6 separate regions of the Homo sapiens genome follow, and regions 2, 3, 4, 5 and 6 are each linked to region 1. Evidence: promoter capture Hi-C in 16 types of primary human blood cells and fetal thymus (Javierre and others, 2016). All regions are on one chromosome and are shown on one strand. Each heading gives the region's core, a stretch centred on a gene start or on the middle of the fragment in contact. The rest is flanking DNA. Distances are from core to core; before and after follow the strand shown. Region 1 holds the start of POC5 (POC5 centriolar protein). Region 2 holds the start of IQGAP2 (IQ motif containing GTPase activating protein 2). Region 3 holds the start of GFM2 (GTP dependent ribosome recycling factor mitochondrial 2). Region 4 overlaps IQGAP2 (IQ motif containing GTPase activating protein 2). Region 5 overlaps SV2C (synaptic vesicle glycoprotein 2C). Region 6 overlaps IQGAP2 (IQ motif containing GTPase activating protein 2).

Evidence for each region. Contacts are between HindIII fragments. The CHiCAGO score rates a contact against its expected background, and 5 or more counts as called.
Region 2: a contact is called between the fragment with the promoter of IQGAP2 here and the fragment with the promoter of POC5 in region 1, in 2 of 17 cell types (naive B cells and naive CD8 T cells). The highest score is 7.3, in naive B cells.
Region 3: a contact is called between the fragment with the promoter of GFM2 here and the fragment with the promoter of POC5 in region 1, in 14 of 17 cell types (total B cells, non-activated CD4 T cells, activated CD4 T cells and 11 more). The highest score is 28.5, in total B cells.
Region 4: a contact is called between a fragment that was not itself captured here and the fragment with the promoter of POC5 in region 1, in 1 of 17 cell types (naive B cells). The highest score is 5.2, in naive B cells.
Region 5: a fragment that was not itself captured here is called in contact with the fragment with the promoter of POC5 in region 1 in 10 of 17 cell types (M1 macrophages, M2 macrophages, M0 macrophages and 7 more); the score reaches 10.7 in M1 macrophages.
Region 6: a fragment that was not itself captured here is called in contact with the fragment with the promoter of POC5 in region 1 in 2 of 17 cell types (naive CD4 T cells and total CD4 T cells); the score reaches 7.9 in naive CD4 T cells.

What each region holds. Positions count from the first base shown.
Region 1 is chr5:75,714,415-75,718,833 of GRCh38, reverse strand. It overlaps POC5 (POC5 centriolar protein), which reads left to right and starts at 1,397. Exons shown (of 12, transcript NM_001099271.2): 1 at 1,397-1,528. LOC441087 (a long non-coding RNA gene) reads right to left here and starts at 1,402. Exons shown (of 3, transcript NR_149046.1): 1 at 1,250-1,402. RefSeq lists an enhancer at 1,692-2,001. The HindIII fragment of the contact is 9,196 bases long and covers 1-4,419 here.
Region 2 is chr5:76,401,032-76,405,434 of GRCh38, reverse strand. It overlaps IQGAP2 (IQ motif containing GTPase activating protein 2), which reads right to left and starts at 2,150. Exons shown (of 36, transcript NM_006633.5): 1 at 1,844-2,150. The coding sequence starts at 1,889. RefSeq lists silencers at 1,839-1,948, 2,119-2,468 and an enhancer at 1,685-2,185. The HindIII fragment of the contact is 5,105 bases long and covers 1-2,829 here.
Region 3 is chr5:74,765,811-74,769,996 of GRCh38, reverse strand. GFM2 (GTP dependent ribosome recycling factor mitochondrial 2) reads left to right here and starts at 2,880. Exons shown (of 21, transcript NM_032380.5): 1 at 2,880-3,059. NSA2 (NSA2 ribosome biogenesis factor) reads right to left here and starts at 2,748. Exons shown (of 6, transcript NM_014886.6): 1 at 2,634-2,748; 2 at 879-1,066; 3 at 633-783. The coding sequence starts at 2,636. RefSeq lists an enhancer at 2,728-3,167. The HindIII fragment of the contact is 3,173 bases long and covers 2,430-4,186 here.
Region 4 is chr5:76,578,995-76,583,025 of GRCh38, reverse strand. All of the region lies in intron 5 of IQGAP2 (IQ motif containing GTPase activating protein 2), which reads right to left. Among named protein-coding and RNA genes, the nearest start is that of F2RL2, 42 kb to the left of the region's middle. RefSeq lists an enhancer at 710-799. The HindIII fragment of the contact is 2,766 bases long and covers 620-3,385 here.
Region 5 is chr5:76,253,475-76,257,503 of GRCh38, reverse strand. The region is part of intron 4 of SV2C (synaptic vesicle glycoprotein 2C); the gene reads right to left. Among named protein-coding and RNA genes, the nearest start is that of SV2C-AS2, 56 kb to the left of the region's middle. The HindIII fragment of the contact is 1,926 bases long and covers 928-2,853 here.
Region 6 is chr5:76,548,782-76,553,154 of GRCh38, reverse strand. The region is part of intron 2 of IQGAP2 (IQ motif containing GTPase activating protein 2); the gene reads right to left. Among named protein-coding and RNA genes, the nearest start is that of F2RL2, 72 kb to the left of the region's middle. The HindIII fragment of the contact is 5,305 bases long and covers 376-4,373 here.

The DNA of each region.
Region 1 (4,419 bases), core at 148-2,647:
AAAGCTAGATTATAATTATGATCTGATTCTAAGGCCAATACTTCACCAGAAGGCTCTATCTTGAAGTCTGACACGTTTGAGATTAGTTAAAACTAGACTACCAATTTTGGTTTTTTCTTTGTTTTTTGAGACAGAGTCTCACTATCACCCAGGCAGGAGTGCAGTGGCGATATCTTGGCTCACTGCAACCTCTGCCTCCTGGGTTTAAGGGATTCTCCTGCCTCAGCCTTCGGAGTAGCTGGGACTACAGGCGTAAGCCACCACACCCGGCTAATTTTTGTATTTTTAGTAGAGATGGGGTTTCACCATGTTGGCCAGCCTGGTCTCGAACTCCTGACCGCAGGTGATCCGCCTGCCTCGTCCTCCCAAAGTGTTGGGATTACAGGCGTGAGCCAACGCGCCCAGCCTAGACTAGCAATTTCTCAAAGGGTGGTCTGCAGACTCCTGCATCAGAATCACTGGCAGTGTGTGTTAAAAATTCAGATTTCCTGACGGTGTCCATGACCGAAGGAATCAACACCTTCGGCCGGGCGTGGTGGCTCACGCCTGTAATCCCAGCACTTTGGGAGGCCGAGGTGGGCGGAACACCTGAGGTCAGGAGTTCGAGACCAGCCTGGCCAACATGGTGAAACTCCATCTCTACTAAAAATACAAAAATTAGCCAGGCGTGGTGGCGGTCGTCTGTAATCCCAGCTACTCGGGAGGCTGAGGCAGGAGAATCCCTTGAACCTGGGAGGCGGAGGTTGCAGTGAGCCGAGATAGTGCCACTGCACACCAGCCTGGACGGCAGAGCAAGACTCCATCTCAAAAAAAAAAAAAGCACCTCCAAGTGATTCTGTTGCAGGGGATCTGTGGATGATGCAGATTTTTTTTTTGTTTTTAATTTTTTATAGAGAAAGGGTCTCCCTATGTTCCCCAGACTAGTCTCGAACTCCCGGGCTCAAGCGATCCTCCCACTTCGGCCTCCCAAAGTGCCGGGATTACTGGCATGAACCACCACACCTGGCCCAGAATTTCGGATTGTTCTTATGCAGACGAAAGCATTAGGACTCATATCTAGGTTACCGGAATTGTTGAAAGCCAACAGCACACGGCATTAGCCAACTTCAGCCCTGCTCAACAGCCTCTATCCAAATCAGCTCCCGGAGCCGCTTAGCAGCCTGCAGCCGCTGAACAGAACTGAGCACGCGCAATATTTAATCCCCACGGGCGCTGGGTGGGGCTCCCTAGGACCCCGCCCCCTACCAACCTGCGGAGCCAGGGGGCGGGGCTCTCCAAAGTAATTCCGGCTTCTCCCGGCAGCGGCCCAAATCCCCGCCCCCAGCTCTCGGACCAATCAAACGGCAGATTGCTGAAACAAAGGACCAATGCCCAGGGCGGTCCTTAATTCCTCCCTGCAGTTTGAAACTGTCAGGTTGCCGTCTAGGTAGCGGTTGTGCTTGCTGAGGCTGCACTTGCTGACACTGCAGCTGCGACGCGGCTAAGAGGCGCAGAGCGAGGAGTCGGGATTTGGTCGCGAGCGGCGACGGTGGGTAGCAGCGCTCCGGGCAGATCCTGCGTCCCTGCATCCCTGGCGAAAGTAGTGGAGGGAGATTTAAAGTTCCTTGGCGCGTGTTTCCTCCCCCTGGGCTCTTCCCCAGACCGCGAGTGATTCAGCTGTTGTGCCGGAAGGTCCCAAAGTTTCCCCTCCGAGGCGTGCAGGAAGAGGAAGTGAGCAGGAGTGAGGGATGCTGAGCGATTACTGTCATCAGAGGTTCCGGTCACTTAAAACGTTGAGAAAAAATAACCATGTATAAAGCTCTGTTGTGCTTAAGTAAGATTTTTCTTAAAACAGGCTGGGTCGGAAGGTGATGGAAGAAAACTTATGGCCTTTTGCTTACTGCAATGGCTTTTCTCCTCTGCTTCTAGTCCCTGCTTTGGGGAGGGGCTGGCGCGCCCCTTTCCTTGAGTGCAGCTAGGCCTGGTGAAAGGCACAGGCGACATCACCCTGCTGCTAGTTTGCATGTTAATTCGCTCTTCCTTTGCCTCTTGGGGGTTCCATTTGAATTCCCAGACCCCTGTTTTGCTGTCAGCCAGATAATTACCAAGATGTTATTTTATGTTTCTGGCAACAGAGAAGCACACAAAAGTTTTGATCTTGTTTTCTGATACCTTGGATTAGAGACTACTGAAAATGTAGTGAACTAATGTGCGTCCGCCACCCATTAAAGCAGTTTTCATTTTTCTCCTTTGTTTCTGAACCTAGAAACAGTAAGGAAAATGCTACTGTTCTAGAGTTTCAAATAACTCATACCTTGTTGACATAAAGCAGGGCAGATGGAAGATAGCATATTTTCCAAGAGTGCGGTGGGTTTTTTTGTGTCTGCAGTGTGTCCATATTAAGAAACAATTTTTGAGATCTGACCATACTTACTAGCTCATTTTTAAATAATCAGCACCCCCCCCCCCCCACCCCTGTTACCTGCCTGGTCTCAAATCCTGAAGGAAGAAGTGAATAAAAATATAAATGGACCAAGTTATCACAGTGGTAGATTTGAAGTCAGTGAAGCAGCCATTCCTTGCTGCAGATACATGCACTTATTTTATCCTCCCTAATTGGCTTAACTAAAGACAGTCATGCTGAGATTTAGTTTACTTAACATGTGTATGCACAGTGATACTCACTGGAAAAAGTTGAACTTTCCTTTCCACAATTTAGTTCCAGCCTGTGTTTCCATTCTATTTTTGCACTTTTCCCTGTATCTTCCTTTTCTATTTCAATTTCCTCATCTCTCATTTATTTTTCAGCCCACTGTGACTAAGACCTGTAATTGTTTTACTTTCCAGTGAAATTGTTCAAGCAAACGTCTCAGCAACCTCCTAATCTCCAAATTCTATCCAATCCTCATGGTTCTTTGGCATCTAATTCTATTTTCTTCTCAAAGTTGTGATATTGCTTCCATAGTTCTAATGTTCTGACTTCCTTTGCTGACTCCTCTTCTTTGCTGACTGTTCTTCTCTTGCCCTTTAGATGTTAGTGGTTCTGGCTTTAACCCTCTTCTCATTCACAGTCGTAGTCCTTAACTCTATTAGGGCTATGGTCCCCTCTGAACGCATATTTAAAGCGAAAGATCTTCTTTCTAGAAAAATACACATTCACATTTATGATAAAAATATTGCATACGAGTCGGGTATAGGGACCTGATATGGTTAGGTCTTGTGTCCCCACTCAAATCCCATCTTCAATTGTAATCTCCACATGTAGGGGAAGGGAAGTGATTGGATTATAAGGGCGATTTCCCCCGTGCTGTTCTCATGATAGTGAATTCTCACGAGATCTGATGGTTTTATAAATGGTAGTTTTTCCTGCACTCTCTCACATACTGTCTCACCTGCCGCCATCTAAGATGTGCCTGCTTCCCCTTCTACCATGATTTTAAGTTTCCTGAGGCCTCCCCAGACATGCGGAACTGTGAGTCAATAAAAATTCTTTTATTTATAAATTACCCAGTTTTGGGCAGTTCTTTTTTTTTTTTTTTTTTTTTGAGACGGAGTCTCACTCTGTCGCCCAGGCTGGAGTGCAGCGGCGCGATCTTGGCTCACTATGAGCTCCGCCTCCCGGGTTCACGCCATTCTCCTGCCTCAGCCTCCCAAGTAGCTGGGACTACAGGCGCCCACCACCACGCCAGGCTAATTTTTTGTATTTAGTGGAGACGGGGTTTCACCGTGTTAGCTAGTATGGTCTTGATCTCCTGACCTCGTAATCCTCCCACCTCAGCCTCCCAAAGTGCTGGGATTGCAGGCATGAGCCACCGTGCCCGGCCTGGGCAGTTCTTTATAGCAGTTTGAAAAACGTACTAATACAGGACCTCAGGATAAGAACTTTTTCTCACATTCCTTTTTTATAGGTGGTCTCATCCATTCCCTTTTTTCAGCAGTTCCCATTATGCCAGTGATTCCTCAAACTGGATCTCCAACTTATACCTCCAGTGCGGCGCTCCCACAATGCTTAACTCCAGGAAACACCATTCACAGTGTAGCCATTGTGAATGGCAGTTCTTGGAGTAGCGCACTACGTAGCCAGTGTGACCACAGACTGCATACTTGCAGCTTTACCCTAGTGCCTCAGAGGCATCCTCACACCCAGCTCATCTGATATGGCACTCATTGTCCTTCCTCCCAACCTGCTCATCTTCCTACCTTCCTTGCCTTGGTGAGTGGCACTATCCATCTAGTTACCCAAACCGGAGATCTGGAAGCCACCAACAGTTCTTTTTAACCCCTTGATCTATTATTGATCATTTTCTCTTTCCATCACCATAACACAACTGTCTTGTAGTCATACCCTCCATCCCCTTCCCATTGCTACTTCCTAGACTTAGGTCATCATTTATCTTCTTAATTACTATCAAAGAGAACATTTATCTCTTAGACTACTGC
Region 2 (4,403 bases), core at 901-3,400, 690 kb before region 1:
CTTGATGAGTGGAGGGAAAGTAACCGGGAGTGATTCCAACAAGATGGCACACCACCCCCTTACACCACATTGGTGAAGAAAGCTGGATGAAGATTTCCAAAGAAAGCGGCCCTGTGGAGTGGGCTTCAGGCTTGCCAGATCTGGACTCCCTTGATAGCTTCTTCTGGAGTGCACTTAAAACACAGATTTATTCCGTGAAAATCAAGCAGCATCACAGATGCACATGCAGGGACTGACAGAAATGCTGCATTCATGTACCACATTCACGGAAATTTTGCACTATTTATTGCTCATGAGGGCCGACATCAATCATGTGATAGCAAGAAATCATTTGTTCATGTAGATTCACCTAGTTTGCAGAAGTTTGTGGTTATCTTATCATTTGACACAGTGAAGCCACCATATATTCTGAGAGCTGGTCACATTAAAGTACTTCCACCAACCTGAGGTTGGCACTGCAAACACTGAATGAGCACAGCATTCCTCCTTGAACCCAACGGGCTCTGCTGTATCTGTGGTTTACCAAAAGGCAAAAAGCTGGGTCCCACCTGAGGTTGGCACTGCAAACACTGAATGAGCACAGCGTTCCCTCTTGAACCCAAGAGGCTCTGCTGTCTGTGTGGTTTACCAAAAGGCAAAAAGCTGGGTCTCAGTCAACTGCTGAATGCATTAGAGTACAGAGGCTGTAGTCCTCAGGCCTCCCCCTCACTGCAAGGGTAACACAGGAAAGATAACCTCCCATCTTTGACACGCCAGCGGGGAGGAGGGGAAAGAACCTACACAAGTTGAGGAGCCCTTTTTCAGTTAAGCAAGTCAGTGGCCTTACGCACCATCCAAAACCACACACACACACAAACAAAACACCCTGCTGAAGGTATCACCACCTTAACCCAAACCTGGTACCTCTGCCACCAAGGCCAGCCTGGGCAAAGATTAACCTGTGGTCTTCGGCCTTGGGTTCACTGACAGGGCCACCTTGGAGAGACAGCAGGCCAACTTTCTGTTTGTTTTAAAGGAAATGCTTCCTGGCACATGTTTAGGACTCTGAACTCTGCACATGAAGCCACGTGGTTGGTGTTAATCTGGCTCCATCCACTCACGATCGGCCAAAGCAACCTATTTCCGAGGGCAGCCCCTGGCTGGGTAATCGACACCATCTCGTTCAAGTCACGCGGGCTCCCGCCGGATTCCCCGGAGCCTAGTGCCGCGTCCTCTCCACACAGCAATCCTCCCGCGCGAGGGGAGCGGGGGGGAAAGGGGTTGGGGGGTTTCAGAGGGGAGGGACTTACACCTGTGAGGCCAATGGCTCTAGCGGGTCAGGTGAAGTTCGAGGGCGCGGGACAGGAGGAGACTCCCGCCCTTCCAGTCAAGCCGGCTTTGCACTAGCAGAGTGCGCCGGCGCCCTACTTGCGGTGCCCACCTGTAGCCACAGCAAACAAACTTTCCTCCCCTTCTGGGTTGGAAGAATCCGGTGCCTTACGCCACCCCCTGGCCCAAGCCGGCGGCGACCCGGAGCTCCGCGGACTCCTCACCTGATACCCCTAAAATCCCAACCTGGTCTGTCCCAGAGCGCAATCCCCGCACTGCCCGCGCACCCCGTTTGGGTATGCGGAGTGGAGGGTCTGGGTTGCCAGCTGGATATTAGGAATTGGGGGGCGGGAGGAGCGGGGGGACGCGATTCACTGCCCTTTGCAACTCCAGCTCCCAACTTTGCCAGCCGCGCAGTTGCTGCCTTCCAATTTCCTCTGCGCCGCGCAACCGGCTCCCTCGGCTTCTCCAACGCCGTCCTCGGGGAGGGAGCTCCCCAAGGCCAGCAGGAACCCCGCGCGCCCGGCGCACTTACAGCCATAGCGGGGTCTCTGCAGCGACGGCAGCTCTTCGTGTGGCATCCTGCGCGTCTCCGGGGGCCCGCCCGGGGCGCGCCCCCCGCGGCTACCCTCGCTGGCCAGGCTCGCGGGCTCTGCGCCCCGCCGGCGCGCTCGGATCCCGCCTCTCGCCGATTTCCCCTAGCCGCCCGAAGATCTGCGACCCACTCCCTCGGTGCTCTCTCGCCAGAGCCAGCCACGGCCGCCGCGCGCTGACACTGAAGTAAAAGTGAACTCTCCTCCCTCGCTCCCTGGCCGGTCGCCGCCGCCTCCCGCAGCAGGTTTCCTTTCTCCTCCAGCCAGGCCCCGTTATTCACCGCGGTGGGAGCGCGCGCCGAGACGCAGCGACCCCTACCGCGTGTCGGGCGCAGCGCCCAGGCCGCGTGGACCCGCCCCTTCTCCCCCGGGGGAGAGGGAAGGGGCCGAGAGGGACGCTGGGCCGGGACCCCCTGCAGCTGGGGCCCCCGCACAGCTGGTGGCCTGGGGGTGGCGGCCACCCCGCCTTATTTCTCGCTTCTGGAGAGTTTCGAGGGTGGAAGTGAACCAACGCGGAGAAGTGCAAGAAAAACCGCAGAAGTCACAGGGAGCCCTTCGTGTCCGGGGTGTTGCTCAGTTACTGAGGGACAAACAGCGCGGTTCCTTTTCCTCTGGGGAGATTTCACGTTGACTTTTGTTCTTCTTCTTCGTCTTTTTGGTTTTGTTTTTTTTTGTTTTTTTTTTTTTTTTGCTTCGAAAGTTGCTTCTGTCACTTTTTGTCTACAAAATAACAGGGTTCCCCTTATGACAAGAAACTGAGTGTGTGTGTGCTGGAGGAACAAGATAACCCAAGGCAACCACTCAAAACACAACTGCGAGTCATCCCCCTCCCTCCGATCACCTTGTGCCCGCCCCCGCCCCAGTGTGCAGAGCCTTCTCTCAAGCCCAGCTGGGGTCGCAAGCCACAGAAACCTTTTCCGGCTAAGCTTTTAAGGAAATTAAACTGCATGTGGCTGTTTTGAAATCGGGGTTTTCATGCGGTCGCCAGGAGCTATTTTTCTCTTTGTGTCTCAGCGTGATAAAATCTGGAGGGAATGCGGGACGCTTCCGTACCTGTGCCCTCACCTATTTGACAATTGTGGAATGTGTGGGTGACCCGATAACAGGAAAAACAAACTGAGGGAGGGCGATAAGAAATTATTTAGAGCCGGGCGCGGCGGCTCACGCCTGTAATCCCAGCACTTTGTGAAGCCGAGGCACAAGGATCCCTTGAGCCCAAGAGTTCCAGACCAGCCTGGGCAACATAGCGAGACCCCGTCTCTCCAAAAAATGAAAAAATAATATTAGCCGTATTAGCCGGGCGTGGTGGTTGCGCCTGCAGTCCCAAGCTACTCAGGAAGCTGAGGTGGGAGGATTGCTTGAGCCCGAGAGGACAAGGCTGCTGTGGGTTGTGATTGCACCAGTGCACTCCAGCCTGGGTGAGAGTGCAAGACCCTCGGAGGCGGTGGGGGGATGGAAATTATTTCGCTGAGGAAATGGTGGCATAGTGACACTAATCATTTTTTATTATGCAAGGATACAGAGGATGAGCAGCTGTTTTCCATTTCATATAGGAGACGCAGTCCTTCTCAAACTTGTTGAAACTCACATTCTTGGGCCCCACCCTCAGAATTTCCGACTCAATGGGTCTGGGCTGGTGCTCATGAATTTGCATTTCTAATTTCTAGCATACTGCCAGGTGATGCTGACACTGCAGAGCGTGCTTAGGGTGGCTCTGTGAGTGGTAGATGCTCACAGGGACGTAAACTGTACACAGGGAACTCTCAATTCAGACGGGATAGCAAAATATTTTTTTTTTTTCCCTGATGGCATTAGATTCTCACCTGTTTGGAATGGGATGAATGGAGTTTTCCTTTCTTAAAAAGCAGATGCCTCTCAGTCTAAGAACAATTCAGAGGCGAAATGGCCACATTTGAGGCTCGGCACCCTGTCAATTGATATTCACCCAAAGGAGAAATGTGGAAGGGGATTTTCGTGCATGTCAGGAGATGCTGAATTAAATGATGTCTAAAGTTCATTCCATTTCTGTTGTTGCATTTGTCAAGTGTTAACAATTAAGTATTTACACATAACAATTTTCGTATGAGTGTATGACTTAGAGCCCAAATAAATGAGTAGTCTATATATTTAGAGGTGGGTGAAAAAATCACTCTGAACTAAAATGGTCCAGGAAGGTGACAGGGTTTGAAAGTGTGGCTTGAAGTGGAAGTGTGGTAAAAGCTGGATGGAGAGCATCCAAGGGAAAGAAACAATGAGGTGGAGCACAAGGTTGGGTTGGAGCTGGATTGGTTGGACTGGATTGGAGCTATGAAGTTGTCATCAGGTTGTGGAGGGCCCTGAGTGTCTGGCTAAGAGGACCGGAGATTATCGTAGAAACATTCAAGAGATCTTAAAGGTTTTGAGTATGGAAGCTGCAGAATGCAAGGGAGTTTAGGGAAGGAGAATATTGGAGCAGGTCATAGGATAGGTTGGGATGGGACAACTTGGAGATGTTGACGCCCC
Region 3 (4,186 bases), core at 1,631-4,130, 950 kb after region 1:
TACTGGAAGAGTGTTTCCACCTCTTAATATGTCTCTGTATTTCTTCCCGAGATGGATCTGTAGATCACTAGCAAGACAAAATCCTCACCAGATGTTTTATGCCTCCCTTGAGTGCAAATTCTATGAAAAAACTGAAATAGTGTAAGGCAGTAAAAATAATTCTTTAAATATAAATACTGCATATTCTTTTATCTGGATTTCTGCTAATCTATTTACAGGTGTTTTAAAAAGCCACATTTTTTGTGACAACTCAGGGAGTTTTCCACCATTCTACTTTTTAACCAAGTTTGGCACTACAGGGCAGCACAAATAAGAAGCATTTGTATTTTTCTTTATGACTGCATAGCACTGTGGGTTTTCAAACAGGAAGACAAATATTGAATTTGAAATTCACTCCTTACCAGCTTTTTAATTTCATATGGCATTCTAATAAATTTTTTTTATAACTTAAATTTTAAAACCTTATGATGAGAAAGCAAGTTTTTTATTAAATTTACAAAGACTTCAACATCTAAATAATGGGAATAATAGCTGTACTTCATGTTTGAAATTAAACCGAGAAACAAGAACCTCAAATTTGAATTTAAGTAATTCTCCTAAACAAAACAAAGACTTCAATTGTTATTGCTTACCGCCTTCTCTTTTCTTTTCTGTTTAATCATATTGGAAAGTACTTTAGCTCGAGATTGTCCCTCTCTGTCCAGCAGATAGGCAGGTACTGCTCCCTGTGGTGTCTTTTCATCATTCTTTTGTTTGGTGTTTCTCTTTTCATGCATCTTGATACTACCAAGAAGGAAAAAAGATTCAAGATTATCTGTTTTAATAATGATTACTCAAAAGATGTTAACTTGTTATGACAAATAAATGAGACCACTTACGTCTTTTTCATTTGTATTTTCTCAGCATGACGCTGTTTATGGTAAAGCTTAGCCTTCAGACCAATCATTTTCTTTGCCTTCTTTGAACGTTCATGAGCCTCTCGACTTTCCTTCTTTCTCTTTTTCTCATGGTAATCCAAACGGTATCCATAGCGTTTACGGTGTAATTCAATATATTCATTCTGTGGCTATAATGATGGAAGAAATATTATTTTAATTTTTTAAAGTACTGACAATTATTCTAAAATGCTTTCTTTTACACAGCACAAAGACCCTGTTTCATCCAAATGTTCACTTACTTAAATGATTCTTGCACCATTAAGTTTATTCACATGATGTAAGTTAAATTTTGGTCTTGAATGATATGAGGCATCAGGGCTTACATCTCTAATAATCTCATTAGGGAATGGTCCAAAATCTACTGGACCACAAAAGGGATGAACTGATTACAGTATCTTTTTTCCTTGACATAATTTGCTTTTTTAATAACACCTTCATTTCACATTTAAAAAATTTAAGTCAGTTTTATTGAAGCATAATTTACACACAGTAAAACCTGTCCTTTTTAGGTATACAGTTCTAAGTTTTTCCTAACTACACAGTTCTGTAACCACCACAATCAAAATACAAAGAATTTCCATTTCCCCCTAAAATTCCCTATGTAACTTTTAAGTCAATCCTCTTTCCCAACCCTCAGTTTGATACCTATCCCTACAGTTTTGCCTTTCCCAGAATGAAACAGGGATCAACAGTAGTACATAGCCTTTTGAATCTGGTTTCTTGCTTTTGGGATTCACCCAATTTGCTGCAGGTATAGGAACTTCAATCCTTTTTATTGTTGAGTAGTATGCTATTGTATGGATACACCACTGTTTACCCGCTGACCAGATGATAGGTATCAGGGTTGTTCCCAGTTTTGGGTGATTACGAATAAATCTGCAATAAACAACTGCATGCAAGTCTTCATGTGGACGTGTGTTTACTGCCAGACCGTTTTCCAAAAGTGCATTATTTTTCTTTTCACCAGCAATGTATGGGATGCTTTTTGCATTTTAGACACGTTTTAAACACGCGGCCAGGCGTGAGTCTATTCGTATTTTAAGGCTGCAAAAATAAAAATGATACAAAGCCAAGTCCAGCACAGAGAGCAATGTTAAGTAACAACCAACAAGGTGTGCTGCTACCAACTGCTATCACATAAACTTTGCAGCAATCACATGAAGGGTGTATGGAATGCCATTTTGCAAAGAAACGCAGATTATAGAGACGTAACACAAAGAGAAAGGACCTGGCAGTTAGATCTGGGCCGTTAAGCCCGGCTTCGCAATTCATTAGCTGTCTGGTCTTTGGCAAGGACGCCTTCAGTTTCCTCAGCAGTAAAATGAAGGGGGCGGGACTGACATCTAAGACTGTACAAGGGACAACCATATTCCCATTAGGCTCTGGGGCTGATAACCACGCTTGTGGTGAAATCAGGAATTTTTAGGACTCTTAGCGGTGGATCAAAAAGAAAAAAGAAAACAGGACAGAGTAAAATCTTGCTCCAAAGCTTGTGTTCTGGCAAATACCGTCTGTGTCTCGAATGTGAAGTTGTTTCCACTCCTCAGAGCCCACCCCACGGGTCTACCATCCTTTTCTCTTGGCAGTTCTCATTTCCGCCTACCACCGCTCACCCCCTACCCCAGCGCCCCAGAGTCCTCAGGTCCCACTAACTCAGACGCTGTGTGTCGCGAGCGTCCGAGGCATCCTCCTTACCATGGTGACGGCCGCAGAGCCGCCAGGAGCAGCCGCTGGAGTGCGAAAACGCTCTCAATTTTCGGGTCTCAAAGACCCACAAGCCCACACCACGCAGGCCGGGACAGGAAAGAGTCACCCTTTAAAACGGCCGAGTGAAGAGCAAGAACCACGCAGCGGTTCCGAGCCTCTGTTTTCCGCTTTTAGCTAGGAGGACGGAAGTTGCTGGCAGGCGGCATTTGGCCGGTACACCGCCGGAAGTGTGGAGGTGTGGCTGCCCGAGGCGGTAGAGCGGAGAAAGCCTATTTTCTTTTCGTTTAGATACATTGCCTTTTGCCTAGGCTGGCGTCGAGACTTGAGGCCGTTGCAGACTTTGGCGCGGCTCGCGCCTCCTGCTTCAAGAGCCCAGCGGTGAGAGCTGGCCTGCGGCACGCGGCCTAATGCCAGGTGAGTACTGCTCCGAGCTGTGAGACATCGCGCGCCTGTGACCCTGTCACAGCGCTGGGTACCGCTGACCTTTCAGGCTGCGACGGACACAGCCAGCCACGGAAGAGGACAACAGGGCCTCCGGACTCCCCTCGGTGTTCGCTCAGTATGGAAGTTTTTCTCTATCATTCGGCGAAGTCGACTCATCTTTGTTCCGGTCACTCTGTGTAATGTGTGCATGATTGTGAAGGATACTGAGGAATGAAAACTTAGTGTACAGAAAAATGGAACTACTGGGGCTTTGCAGCTGTTAGAAAAGAAGAAGATAACATTCTGGTTTTTTGGAGGTACAGGACTGATTCCAGAAATTTCTGAGGCATTTTGGTGCACCGAATCAAATGCTGAGTGGACTTGTATTTAGTGGCCCCCTAGTGTCAAGAAGTAATTAACTACCAGAAAGTACGTCTACTTAAATACACTATCAGGTTTACCCTTTTACTGCACAGTTGCAGAAGTTCCCTTAATTACTTCACAGCTTGCAGCGTGATTCAGTTGATGAACAAAAAGAACTGTACCAAAAGAATACTTTCATTAATTCTTAGTGCTTGTATTTGAGGCAGTATTTTGTTTTTGTTTTTGTTTTTATGGGTATTTTGAGACGGCATCTCGCCCAGTCGCCCAGGCTGGAGTGCAGGGGCACGAGCTCGGCTCACCGCAGCCTCGACCTCCCGGGATCAAGCGATCCTCCGACCTCAGCCTCAAAAGTAGCGAGCTACAGGCTCGCGCCACGAAGCCTGGCTGATTTTTGTAGTTTTTGTAGAGATGAGGTTTCACCGTGTTGCCCAGGCTGGTCTCGAACTCCCGGGTACGAGCGATCCACCCGCCTCGGCCTCCCAAAGTGTTGGGATTACAGGCTTGAGCCACAGCGCCCGGCTTTGAGGCAGTTTTTGTTTTGTTTTGAGACGGAGTTTCAATCTTGTCGCACAGGCTGGAGTGCAAATGCGCCATCTCGTCTCACTGCAACCTCTGCCTCCCGGGTTCAAGCGATTCTCCAGGTTCAGCCTCCCAAGTAGCTGGAATTATAGGCGCTCGCCACCACACCCAGCTAATATTTTTGTATTTTTAGTAGAGATGGGGTTTCACCATGT
Region 4 (4,031 bases), core at 753-3,252, 860 kb before region 1:
GAGAGCACTTTTTGTGAGGTAGCAAGCCTCCTACCACACCAAAAGCTACAGCACACCTGTGCAGCTGAGTGAGGCCAGCAACGGAGGGGTTGCCCAGAGGTAGCTACCGACTCATTGACCCATGTGCTCCTACTTGTACAAATAATATCACTTAAAGTCCAGGAAGCAATAAAGAAAGTTTTAAAAAATACCATTTAGTGTATATCATGAAAGTAGTATATAGTAGTAGTAGTAGTAGTAGTTGTTATCTACTGAACCAAATTTTTCCATCTTAGTCACATACATTACTGCCAATATCACATGGCATTAGTTTTTTCTACCACTTTCAAGATAAAACTAGTGGTATTAGTTTTTTCTATACTTTCAGGATATACACTAAAAGGTACTATCGTAATGAAATGCAAACTTAAAAGGCAGGAGCTAAATTTATTTCAGCTTTCTTGGATCACATTATGTGTAGCTCATTTTGTACTATAACATGTGGAATGAATGTTTGTATATCAAAGCCTCATGGTAGAGCAGAAAGACCACAGGACTAGAATCCAGAAGCGCTGAATCCTGGTCCCAAAACTGGTAAAACCTCAGTGTGTGACTAAGAGCAAGTCACGTAACCCAAGCTTTCAGTTCCCTTATCTGTGAAATGAATGACTTAGACTACAATAACTTCCCAAGGCCCTTCCCCTTCTCAAGTTCCATGATTCTTCATTTAAAACATGTTAAATATAATAGCTGAGAGGCCTGTGCTGAAGTTCAAGTCTGATACCAGTGTTCTTTTAATTTTCTTAGAAGTAGGGAAATAATTGACTTCTTTTGAAGCCATTGGCTGGCTGAATTCATAATAGCACAGGTTCAGTTCTCACATATCCTGGTTTTTACTAACTGTGTGACCTTCGGCAGCCTCTCTGTGCCTCAACTGCCTTGGTGATAAAATGGGAGTAATAATAGTGACCACTGCACAGATATGTTATGAAGATAAAATGAGATTATACCAGTACAGTATTTTGTGCAGTGCCAGGCACATAGTTAAAAGCTCCATTTGTGTTAACCTTTGTTCTTACTATTCTTTGTTAAATAAATGTGTCCTTTGTATACAAACACTTATTGATAACCTATCAAAGTGGTTTTCTTACTTTTTCCAATGCCAAGAATCTCTATTTCACCACAGACTCCATGTTTGAAATAGTTTTATTTACTGAACCAAATTTTTCCATCTTAGTCACATATATCACTGCCAATATCATATCAAAATCCAGGGTTCTATACCTAATTTTCAGCCCCAAACCAAAGGAATCCTGAGGTAGCCTTATCATAGAGAAATTAGTTCAATTAAACCTCCTGAAGAGTTAAATATACAAACTCCAGAGACTTTAACTTGGAATCAATAGCACGTAAGCTGTATGAAGTAACAAGATGTGGTTCATAGTCTCTTAAGAGCTCAGAATTTAGGAAGACAGAAAGGCATAACCACCATACTAATTTAGGACAGAAAGAGGAGGAAAGGGAAAGGAATGGTTCAGAGCACAGAGAGAATTCTGAGCAAGGAAGGACTTGAAAGAAATAAGCAGGTGCAACTGCCTCCCTCACCTTACTTCCAAATACTGCCATCTCCAGATATCCCTTCTGAGAACCTAGGATTAGAGCCTGTCCTTTGAGCTAAGAAACTGTCTTTGGAAATCTTATTTATAAATGCAAATATGTTCACTGTTAGAGATATAATCAATCTGATATAAGGGTTCAATCAGTTTCTTAGGGAAGGAAAAGGTTCTAAGGGAACAGAGTGTTAAGACAAGGAAAGTTATGCATTAATGCCTGAGGAGCAGGTTCAAAGGCCACCTGGTAAGCAAGACAGCCACCTGGCTGTGTGGGAGCTGGCTAGACAAACTCTACTCCACAAAGCTCCCAGAGTACCTGGACGGCTGGTGAACCAGAAGTGGGTCTGCCAGAGCCATGGCATCACCATTGCACCTGAAAACATGGCTGCTGCGACACAGCTACAGTATCAGCAGCGGGAAGAGTAATCCTATCACAGAGGAGAGGCAGACATAGCTTCCGTTTGTGGCTGCCCATGTAGAAGAATCTCAATGGTCAAATGAACTAGACAGCAAGAAAAGCAGAATCCAGTAAGCTAATAAGGTTAAACTTGAAAAATTAATATAAACACATGACTTTTAAGAGGAATCCCTAGAGAGTGGTGGTTCCACATCTCAAAGCAGAAATAATCAGGATAGGACTGGAACATCCTGTTGTGACCACGAGCAAGGATATTTCAAAGAATGTCAGGGACGGTGCTAGAAGGACAAGGAAGTGGGCCAGAAAGAGCTCAGACTGACCAAGCTGAAACAATCTGGTTCATCAAAAAGAAAGAGATATTAATCTTGGTTAAGTCTGAGAAAGGCCACAGGTTCAAAACAATAATCAAGAGAATAATATACAGTGTCCAAAAAGGAAGTTGTAATAAAAAAAAGAGATAAATAGCGAATGTGTATTTATATTGACTTTAACAAGTTGGGGAGCATTATTAAAACACAAGTACTTTGTTTCTTCTATATCTGTTTTTTGTTTGTTTGTTTTGTTTTGTTTTGTTTTGTTCTTTGAGACGGAGTCTCGCTCTGTTGCCCAGGCTGGAGTGCAGTGGCGCGATCTTGGCTTATTGTGATCTCCGCCTCCTGGGTCTATTCTCCTGCCTCAGCCTCCCGAGTAGCTGGGACTACAGGCGTGTGCCACCATGCTTTTTTTTTTTTCTTTTAATTGAGATGGAGTCTCCCTCTGTTGCCCAGGCTAGAGTGCAGTGGCACAGTCTCAGCTCACTGCAACCTCCGCCTCCCAGGTTCAAGCGATTCTCCTGCCTCAGCCTCCCGAGTAGCTGTGATTATAGGCACCTGCCACCACACCTGGCTAATTTTTGTATTTTTGGTAGAGATGAGGTTTCACCATCATGGCCAGGCTGATCTTAAACTCCTGACCTCACATGATCTGCCTGCCTCAGCCTCCCAAAGTGCTGGGATTACAGGCATGAGCCACAACACCTGGCCTATATTTGTTTATATATAGATATTTTTATACTATTTATACTACATGAAAGAATAAAGACCAAGAACTTTGAGTAAACTAAATAGTCCCAGAAAACAAAGGAAGTGCCCCAAGATAAGGAAGAACCAAGGAGCATAGGTGGTGACAGAAACACCGGGTAGAAAGAGGGTCCAGCACTGGTGGTCACATCCACTAACTAAGTGGAGGCAGGACTAGAAACATGATCTGAGATGATAAATCAGCCCAAAAGCCTAAGGATCACTGGGTACAGTCAATCCCTTGTCTCCCAGGGGATGAAAACCTCTAGAAAGCCCAACTAATTAAAAAAAAAATATTTAAAAGGCATACATAAGCTTTTAATAATGTTAATGGATCAGGCCAATACATCATTATGACAGGACAATGGATTATACAATGCTGGTCAAGTGAGACTTAAGAAAGTAAATTATTTCAGGGTAATGGGGAAGGGGGGCAGGGGTGGGGACCAGATTGTAAATAAAGACCTACCTGAAAGCCGGGTACTTAAATGCGGTCTGATTTTTTTTTTTTTTTTTTAAACAAAGAAAGTTTAGCCTGATGCCTGTGGCCAGGGTCTGACTCGCCATGGGAGAAGAACCCAAAGTTGCGCCATGTTCTGACTCACAAGTGATCCATCCGAAACCCAGATCTGTAATCATGGCAGGTTTGAAAGGGTATTCTTTTGTTTCTGGTGCCACGAAGATTATGTCAATTCTGGGTAGGTATCAAAATAATATAATAGCCAAGGACAACTCAAAACTAGTTATAAATAATAAACAAAATGAGTGAAACTTGTAGTATGGGTCTTACAGAATAGGTTCCAGTGTAGTAAGTTTGTAATAACGTACCTGGGCATTTCACCTGCTCTTTAAGGTATCTGAAGTACTCAAAACATCATTTCTACTAAATTATTCCAACTCTTTCAAGGAACTCACTTTTATGACTGTTTAAACAAGTAACAGTTGTTTAATATCATTTATTAT
Region 5 (4,029 bases), core at 641-3,140, 540 kb before region 1:
CACACACAGGACACTCCCACACACCCATACACACCGCTATCCCCCACACTACACACACCCATATACTGCACATTACCCACACACAAACCATACCACACTACCCCACACATACTACACGCACCCCCCACACCCCAACACATACAACCATGTAGTACACACACCATACAGATACCACACACACACTACACACCATACAGATACCACACACACACTACACACACACACACACACACACACACATACACTACAGCCCCCCACCACGAGCTATAGAGACTATTTAGCCCCAGTGACAACAATAAGTATAAAGATTAATATATAAGATATATGTTAATTAATAAGATTAATAAGTAGGAACATCAAGGAATTTCTTTGCTGAATTCAGTGGCTCTGGAAGTTTACGGCACATCAGAACACCTGTGCAGGTTTCTAAAATCTGCAAATGCCTAGAGTCTGACAACTGGCCTAAACAAAATGGAAATGTGCTTTGATACAGAGGTAGATTAAGCAAAATGAAAGGAAGAAAAAGACTTCAGATGTCTGGAGGCAATTTTCATTCAGCTAGAGGCAGGTAGAAGTTCAAATGCAATTTTAGAAACTTACAACCCCGATCAAGAGGAACTCGTTCATTAAGTCTGTTTAACAAGTTTTTTGGCCTTGTGAGAGCAAAATGAAGATGTAAACTAGACAGTGTTTGTAAGTTTTATGAAGGTCTGTATAAGGAAAATATAATGACATTTTAAAGCGGGGGGCAGATTAAAAGATGATTTGGTAGCAGGCAGGATTCTTGCTGGGAGATGAATTTCCCTGGAAACTGCTCTCTTTCAGAGCTCAATTTGCACAAAGGCAAATCAAAGTGAGTTTTTAAAAGTACCACATAAGCCCTCTGATAGACTGAATTTACAGAAGTAACAAAGGCAGGAAAAAGCTTCTGCAGAAAATTAAGAGTGATGGACACAAGTCACAAAGCTAAAACGTTTAAGGGTTGCTTCATTCTAGGGTGTTCTCAGAAACAGCGGCTTGTGATTAACCCTAGCCAACACTTGAGGGCACCCTGGGTTCACAAGAGACACACAGACGCTGCGCTATTAAAAGCCTCTTCCCTGATGACTTTCACTTGCATGCGTGAGTGGATGTTCCAAGCAATTCAGACTCTGGGGTTGCCCTGAAAGTGTCAAACCTGGGGGCCACAGAAGTGACAGTGATTTTTCTTTCCTCCAGGGCTCGCATTCACTCAATGAGTCTGCATTCTAAGTCAATTGCTGCATTCTTAAATTCAGCCTGGAAAGGTACTCCCCCAGGGGACAGATACAGACTGGAAGGCCAGCCCCACCCTCTAGCTCTGAGGGCCAGAGACTCAGGCAGAGCAGGCAAAGCACAAAGTGGCCTTGGTGAAAGTCTTAAGAACCCAAGGGTCAAGCATGTGCCCTTGAGAGCAAGGGCTGCAGAGAAGAAATGTTTAATGGGGCATTTTTTGCCTTGCATTTCATAAAAACAACCTAGCACATATTTTGCATTCTGTCCCCTTTATTGATTTTTAAAAAGGCATCAGGCAAACTGGCCTGACACTGTATTTCCTTTCTATGGAGATTGTAAGAATCTGAGCCCTCTTCCCCCAGAAGGGCTGAGATGGGAGCCAAGTTGAAGGAAGAGGCAGGAAGAACTGGGCATTTGGTGGGAGGTGGCTGCGGAGATGAGAGTCTCAGGTGAGGCAGTCCCTCCTCCAGTGGCCCAGTGGCTCAGCAGAACCTGAGGGGTGAGGGGGGCGCATAAGGTGGCCAGGCGTGACCACTCTGATAACGATTTCACCAGGTGAGGGGCTTGGCTTTCACAGGCACGGTGCTGACATGTAAGGGTTACTTGATGGCAACCCACGGACTGGGATTTGGTAGGGAAAATCTAATAGAGCAAAGGGATGCCTGGCTAGACAGACAGAGATCCAAGCTAGGACAGTGGGGCCAAAGGACCACTCTAGGGCCACAGTTAAGAAGGAAATGTGATACATTCCTGAAGGACTAGTGAGAAAAGGACTCTAGAACCAGGGACAAAGGAAAGGGACAACCATGGACATTCTGGGGTGGAGGAAGACAGGGTCCCTGCATGGGAGGCTTGGGTGACATGGGAAGATGGTCTCCAGACCGGCTGATCCTGTCTCCAAACCACGTGCTATCATTATAACCAGAATGCGTTTGTGAATTCCAGTCTGGGAAAACAGACAGATTCAAAAGAGTGAGCTAGAAACATATACTTTATGATTTTGATAATGCTTTATGGTTTTAAAAATCCCTGGCAGGAAAATAAATTTATCTGCAAAACAATCTTTGGCTACCTTGATGTATTAGAAATTACTGGAGAGATCCACAGAGCTTTTTAATGATATTAAGAGTGATCATTAATATTATATGAATAACTGTTCTTCTTTCCATAGGACAGAATAATAGGGAAAAGCTCAAAATCTTAGGTTAACAGAGTATTTCCTGACAGTGAGTATTAAAAAATGTAGACAAAGTAAAATCCATTTGGGGGTGGGGTGGAGAGAGGATTTATAAAAAATAAATATAAATCAACACTTAGAGTCTCATTTGTACCAGGAAAAGGGGTGGACCCCAGCCAATATGCCTGTCTCAGATGCTTTTGATCATTTTCTTCTACCCTCAGATAGCAATGTGATTGTTTCTTGGTTACAATAATAATACATGTCTATGTGGCAAGCAATACAGAAAATAAAAGAAGTAAATAACTCCAAGTTTCATCACTCAGAGATAAACATAATTAACATTTTGGATTTAGTACAATTATTAGTATTTAATTAAGCCATGAGAAGATTTAGTGACAGTCTTGGGGAAAGTAGAAGCTTCATTCATTAAGATTTTTGAAATCTGAATTATGGTTCAGAACACATCAGAGGCAGTCTGTGTATTTATTTCACATTGAATGTTTGGGCATATCTATGTCAGATGTTACCTTCCATGCCTGGAAATTTCCATGGAAAATAGGCAGTTCATAAGGGCTAAAAGAGTGAGATCAAGTGAGTGACACCATTGTAAAGCTAAACATGGAGGTTTGAGTAATGTTTGCCTTCTGTCTCACTCCAGCTGGGGCTCTCAGAACCACTTCCACCGACACTCTCAAGGAATAGATGGAAAAGTAGGGATGCAAATAATGCTGTTATTATGCCACATTGGCTGGCTGGATGTGTAGATGCATTACATTTATTTTTAAATTTTTAATATCTCTCTCTCTCTCTCTATATATATATATATATACACACACACATATATATACACACACATATATATACACACATATATATATACACACACACATATATATACACACACACACATATATATATATATATAATAACACATATATTTAATAATAGAGACAGGGAGGTGGTTTCTCCCTATGTTGCCCAGGCTGGTCTCAAACTCCTGGCCTCAAGCAATGCTCCTGCCTTGGCCTCTGAAAGTGCTTGGATTACAGGTGTGAGCTCCTGCACCCAGACAATGCATTACATTTCTACCTTCTGCCAAGTCTAATGAGGGAAGCAGTTCAAGTTTTTGAAACTCAGTGAGAATAGTCTGCAGCAGAATCTTTAAAAACTTATGATAGGGAGAAAATTGAACTAGTTTTTCTTCTCATAATACATGGAGATAATCGTTTCTAAGTTAAATTATGCCTGTAGGTAAAGCTAAAAGATTTTGACTCGGTGATATTAAATAACTAAGAAACATTGATTTCACAAAGATAAAATCTTCGTAGTAAGGAAAGGTGAGATTTTTTTTTTTTTTTTTTCCTTAGGGAGGAGAGGTGGTGGGGAAGGGAATAGAACTGTCCCAGAAACGGCTGGATGTGTTGAGTAATTAGAGGTGAGTAATATGGAACCACACTTTATGCTCATCTAATCCCAGAGAATTCTGAGAAACCATTTCCCTCCCATCCTAAATGGTAAAATTTCTGGCATATTGCAAATAACAGCATCTTTAAATAAAACCATGTCATTAATCTTTAAAATGTAGCCAATGGAAT
Region 6 (4,373 bases), core at 1,779-4,278, 830 kb before region 1:
ATTAGCTGGAGGCCAATGCAAAACTGCCACCATGATTCCATTAGCCTTATTAGCCCAGGGGAACGTGGCTGTAGGAACCCACCCTGCAAAACTAAAGTGGGCATCTACGGGCCCCTATCTTTCTCTCATACAAAACTTATTTGGTTCACTCTAAGAAAGTGACATGAAAGGCTAATTATTTTCTTTAGTAAAATTTTTGCTTTGCTTTAAGAATGCTAATTATTTTCCTTAAAACACAGGCACACAATACCATGAAAAGAATCAACATATGACTTCAAGATCTAGTAGGAGTGGAACAGACTGCAGAGGACTTATGTCTCACTCTTCTCTTTCAGGGGGAGATGATATAGTATAATCTGTTGAGTTTGGCAAGCTTCCCCAAACTGTGTTCCACAGAACGTTGTCTCAGATGCTAAGAGAGACTGTTGCTAGAAATATGGACATGAAAGGTGATTCTAGTGAGATTTTAGACAGAAATGAGGAACATGTTATTAGACACTGAAAAAAGGCAATCCTTGTTATAAAATGGCCAAGAACATTGCTGAATTGCATTTTTGTGTTTTGTGGAAGGTAGAGCTTGTAAGTGACAACCTTGGATATTCTGCTGAGATTTCTAAGCCAAGTGTTGAAAGCCTGTTGTGCTTTCCTTGCCACTTTCCTTTCTCCTTACTGCTTCTATTAAAGTGCAAGAGAAGTGAGAGAAATTAAAGAAAAAATTGTTAGGCTAAACAAACCAGAACTTAAAGATCTGGAAAATTCTCAGCTTATCCATATTGCAAAAAAATGAGAATGTGTTCTGGAGAGGGCACCAACAGTGTGACTGGACAATCACTCCCTAAAGAGTGACAGTGGGACTCACAGATCTAATTGGCCATCTCAACAGAAGCCAGGAATAGAGACGGGGTTCTACCAGTAGCAGAAACACTGCTGACTTGGACTAAAGGGGACAGAGACAGGACACAACAGCAGCAGGCTTCTGAGATGCTACAGGATGGGACAATAGATCTATCTGGCTCTGGGTGTGAGCATGTATTATCCTTCAAGAAAAAGGAAGAATGGTCCCTAAAGCTACTACTCTCACCCCACAACGAAAGTGTTCAGGCCCAGGGGCGAGGAAGGCTCTCTTCCATTTCAAAGGGTGAGGCTCTCTCTGTCTCAGTGTGAGAGGGTGAGGCTGTCATTGTCCAAGGCCTCAAAAGCAAGGCTGCCACCTGGGGCCTTGAAGAAATTCTGCCAGTCCTCTCCCTCCCCCTCCCCTCCCCCTCCCCTCCCCCTCCCCCTCTCCGTCTCCCTCTCCCGTCTCCCTCTTTGCAAGGTCTCCCTCTGATGCCCAGCGGAGGCTGGACTGTACTGCCGCCATCTCGGCTCACTGCAACCTCCCTGCCTGATTCTCCTGCCTCAGCCTGCAGAGTGCCTGGGATTGCAGGCACGCGCAGCCACGCCTGACTGGTTTTTGCATTTTTTGGTGGAGACGGGGTTTCGCCGTGTTGGCTGGGCTGGTCTCCAGCTCTGGACCGCGAGTGATCTGCCTGCCTCGGCCTCCCGAGGTGCCGGGATTGCAGACGGAGTCTCGCTCACTCAGTGCTCAATGTTGCCCAGGCTGGAGTGCAGTGACGTGATCTCGGCTCGCTACAACCTCCACCTCCCAGCCGCCTGCCTTGGCCTCCCAAAGTGCCGAGATTGCAGCCTCTGCCCGGCCGCCACCCTGTCTGGGAAGTGAGGAGTGTCTCTGCCTGGCCGCCCATCATCTGGGATGTGAGGAGCCCCTCTGCCCGGCCGCCCAGTCTGGGAAGTGAGGAGTGCCTCTTCCCAGCTGCCATCCCATCTAGGAAGTGAGGAGCATCTCTGCCCGGCCGCCCATCATCTGAGATGTGGGGAGCGCCTCTGCCCCGCCGCCCCGTCTGGGATGTGAGGGATGTGAGGATTGCCTCTGCCCGGCCCCGACCCCGTCTGGGAGGTGAGGAGCGTCTCTGCCCGACCGCCACCCCGTCTGGGAGGTGAGGAGCGTCTCTGCCCGGCCGCCCCATCTGAGAAGTGAGGAGCCCCTCCGCCCCGCAGCCGCCCCGTCTGGGAAGTGAGGAGCCCCTCCGCCCGGCAGCCACCCCGTCCGGGAAGTGAGGAGCCTCTCTGCCCGGCCAGCCACCCCCGTCCGGGAGGGAGGTGGGGGGCAGCCCCCGCCCGGCCAGTCGCCCCATCCGGGAGGGAGGTGAGGGGCGCCTCTGCCTGGCCGCCCCGTGTGGGAAGTGAGGAGCCCCTCTGCCCGGCCGCCACCCCGTCTAGGAGGTGTACCCAACAGCTCATTGAGAACGGGCCATGATGACGATGGCGGTTTTGTCAAATAGAAAAGGGGGAAATGTGGGGAAAAGAAAGAGAGATCAGATTGTTACTGTGTCTGTGTAGAAAGAAGTAGACATGGGAGACTCCATTTTGTTCTGTACTAAGAAAAATTCTTCTGCCTTGTGATCCTGTTGATCGGTGACCCTACCCCCAACCCCGTGCTCTCTGAAACATGTGCTGTGTCCACTCAGAGTTAAACGGATTAAGGGCGGTGCAAGATGTGCTTTGTTAAACAGATGCTTGAAGGCAGCATGCTCCTTAAGAGTCATCACCACTCCCTAATCTCAAGTACCCAGGGACACAAACACTGCGGAAGGCAGCAGGGTCCTCTGCCTAGGAAAACCAGAGACCCTTGTTCACATGTTTATCTGCTGACCTTCCCTCCACTATTGTCCTATGACCCTGCCAAATCCCCCACTCCGAGAAACACCCAAGAATGATCAATAAATACTGAAAAAAAAAAAAAAAAAATTCTGCCAGCCCAATGGGCCTGGAGGACAGATCATCATGTAAAAAGAATTATTTTCAGGCCTTAAAATTGAACATAATTTGCCCAGCTAGGTTTTGGACTTGCTTTGGACCCATGACCCTTTTTTCTTCCTTCCAAGTTTTCCCTTTTGGAATGGAAATGTCTATCCTAAGCCTGTCCCCATCATTGTATTTTGGAAGCAAATAACTTGTCTGGTTTCACGGGTTCACAGCTGGAGAAGAATTTTTGCCTCAAGATGAATCATATACTTGAGTCTCTCTCACTTTGATGTAGATGATATTTAGATGAGATTTGGGACTTAGAATTGATGCTAGAATGGGTTAAGGCTTAGGTTGTTGAATGCAGGTGAATGTATTTTGCTGTGAGGAGGACATGAATTTTGGGGGTGCAGAGGGCAGAGTGTTATGGTCAGAACTGTGTTCCCCTCCCCAAATTTATATGTTGAAGTCCTAACCCCTAATACCTCAAAATGAGACTGTATTTGAAGACAGGGCCTTTAAAGAGATGGTTAAGTTAAAATGAGGTGATTAGGTGTGGCTACTGTCCTTATAAGAAAAGGTGATCAGGGCACAGAGAGCTCCCAGGGCTGAACGCTCATAGAGGGAAGACAGAAGGACATAGTGAAAGGGCCATCTGCAAAGCCGAGGACAGAGGCCTCAGAAGAAACCAAACACATTGACACCTTGCTCTTGGATTTCCAGCCTCCAAAACTGTGAGAAAGTAAATTTCTGTTGTTTAAGCCTCCCAATCTGTGGTATTTTGTTTATGGCAGCCTGAACAAACTAATACACTAGCTAAAACATCAACTCCCATCATCCTCTAAAATTCCTCACCCAATTTTCTCTTCACTGCATTTATTACTACCTGGCAGACTAGATATAATACTTATTAGTTTGACTGGCTCACTCAGTTAGACTGTGAATTCTACAATAGCAAGGACCTTATCTGTCTTGAGAGGCATCTAACACAATGGTTGAAAGCACACACACACACACACACACACACACTCCAGAGCTCGACGCCTGAGACTGAACCAAAGCTCTGCCACTTACCAGTTACGTGCCCCTTGGGTAACTGAATTAATCTGAGTCTGTTTCCTAATCTACAAAATGGGATAATAATAGAACTGCTTCCAAGGGCTAATAGGAGAAAAGCACTAGAACAGTGCCTGGCATATAGTAGGTACCTTTCATGGTAGCTATTGTAGTTTTTACTGCTCACCACCATATCCCAGACCATGCCCCGCCAATATGATTCACTGTTCACACCTGACCTTCAGCAGTATTTGTTTAGTTCAGCACTGTTTAGCCATACAGACTTCCTTGCGCAGGAAGTATGCCAGCATTTTGACTATCAAACATGCCTTCTTCTCCCATCCCAGTCTGTTGCACCCCCTGAACAAATCCACTCCTCCTGCTAAACACATCCTATTGCCTTACACTAGATACACTCTTAAATGGCATTTAGTAGGGGCTATGTAAATATTTACATATGTTCAGGAGAGCCAGGTTTCTGCTATAATGAGACTCCCACTCTACTGATAATG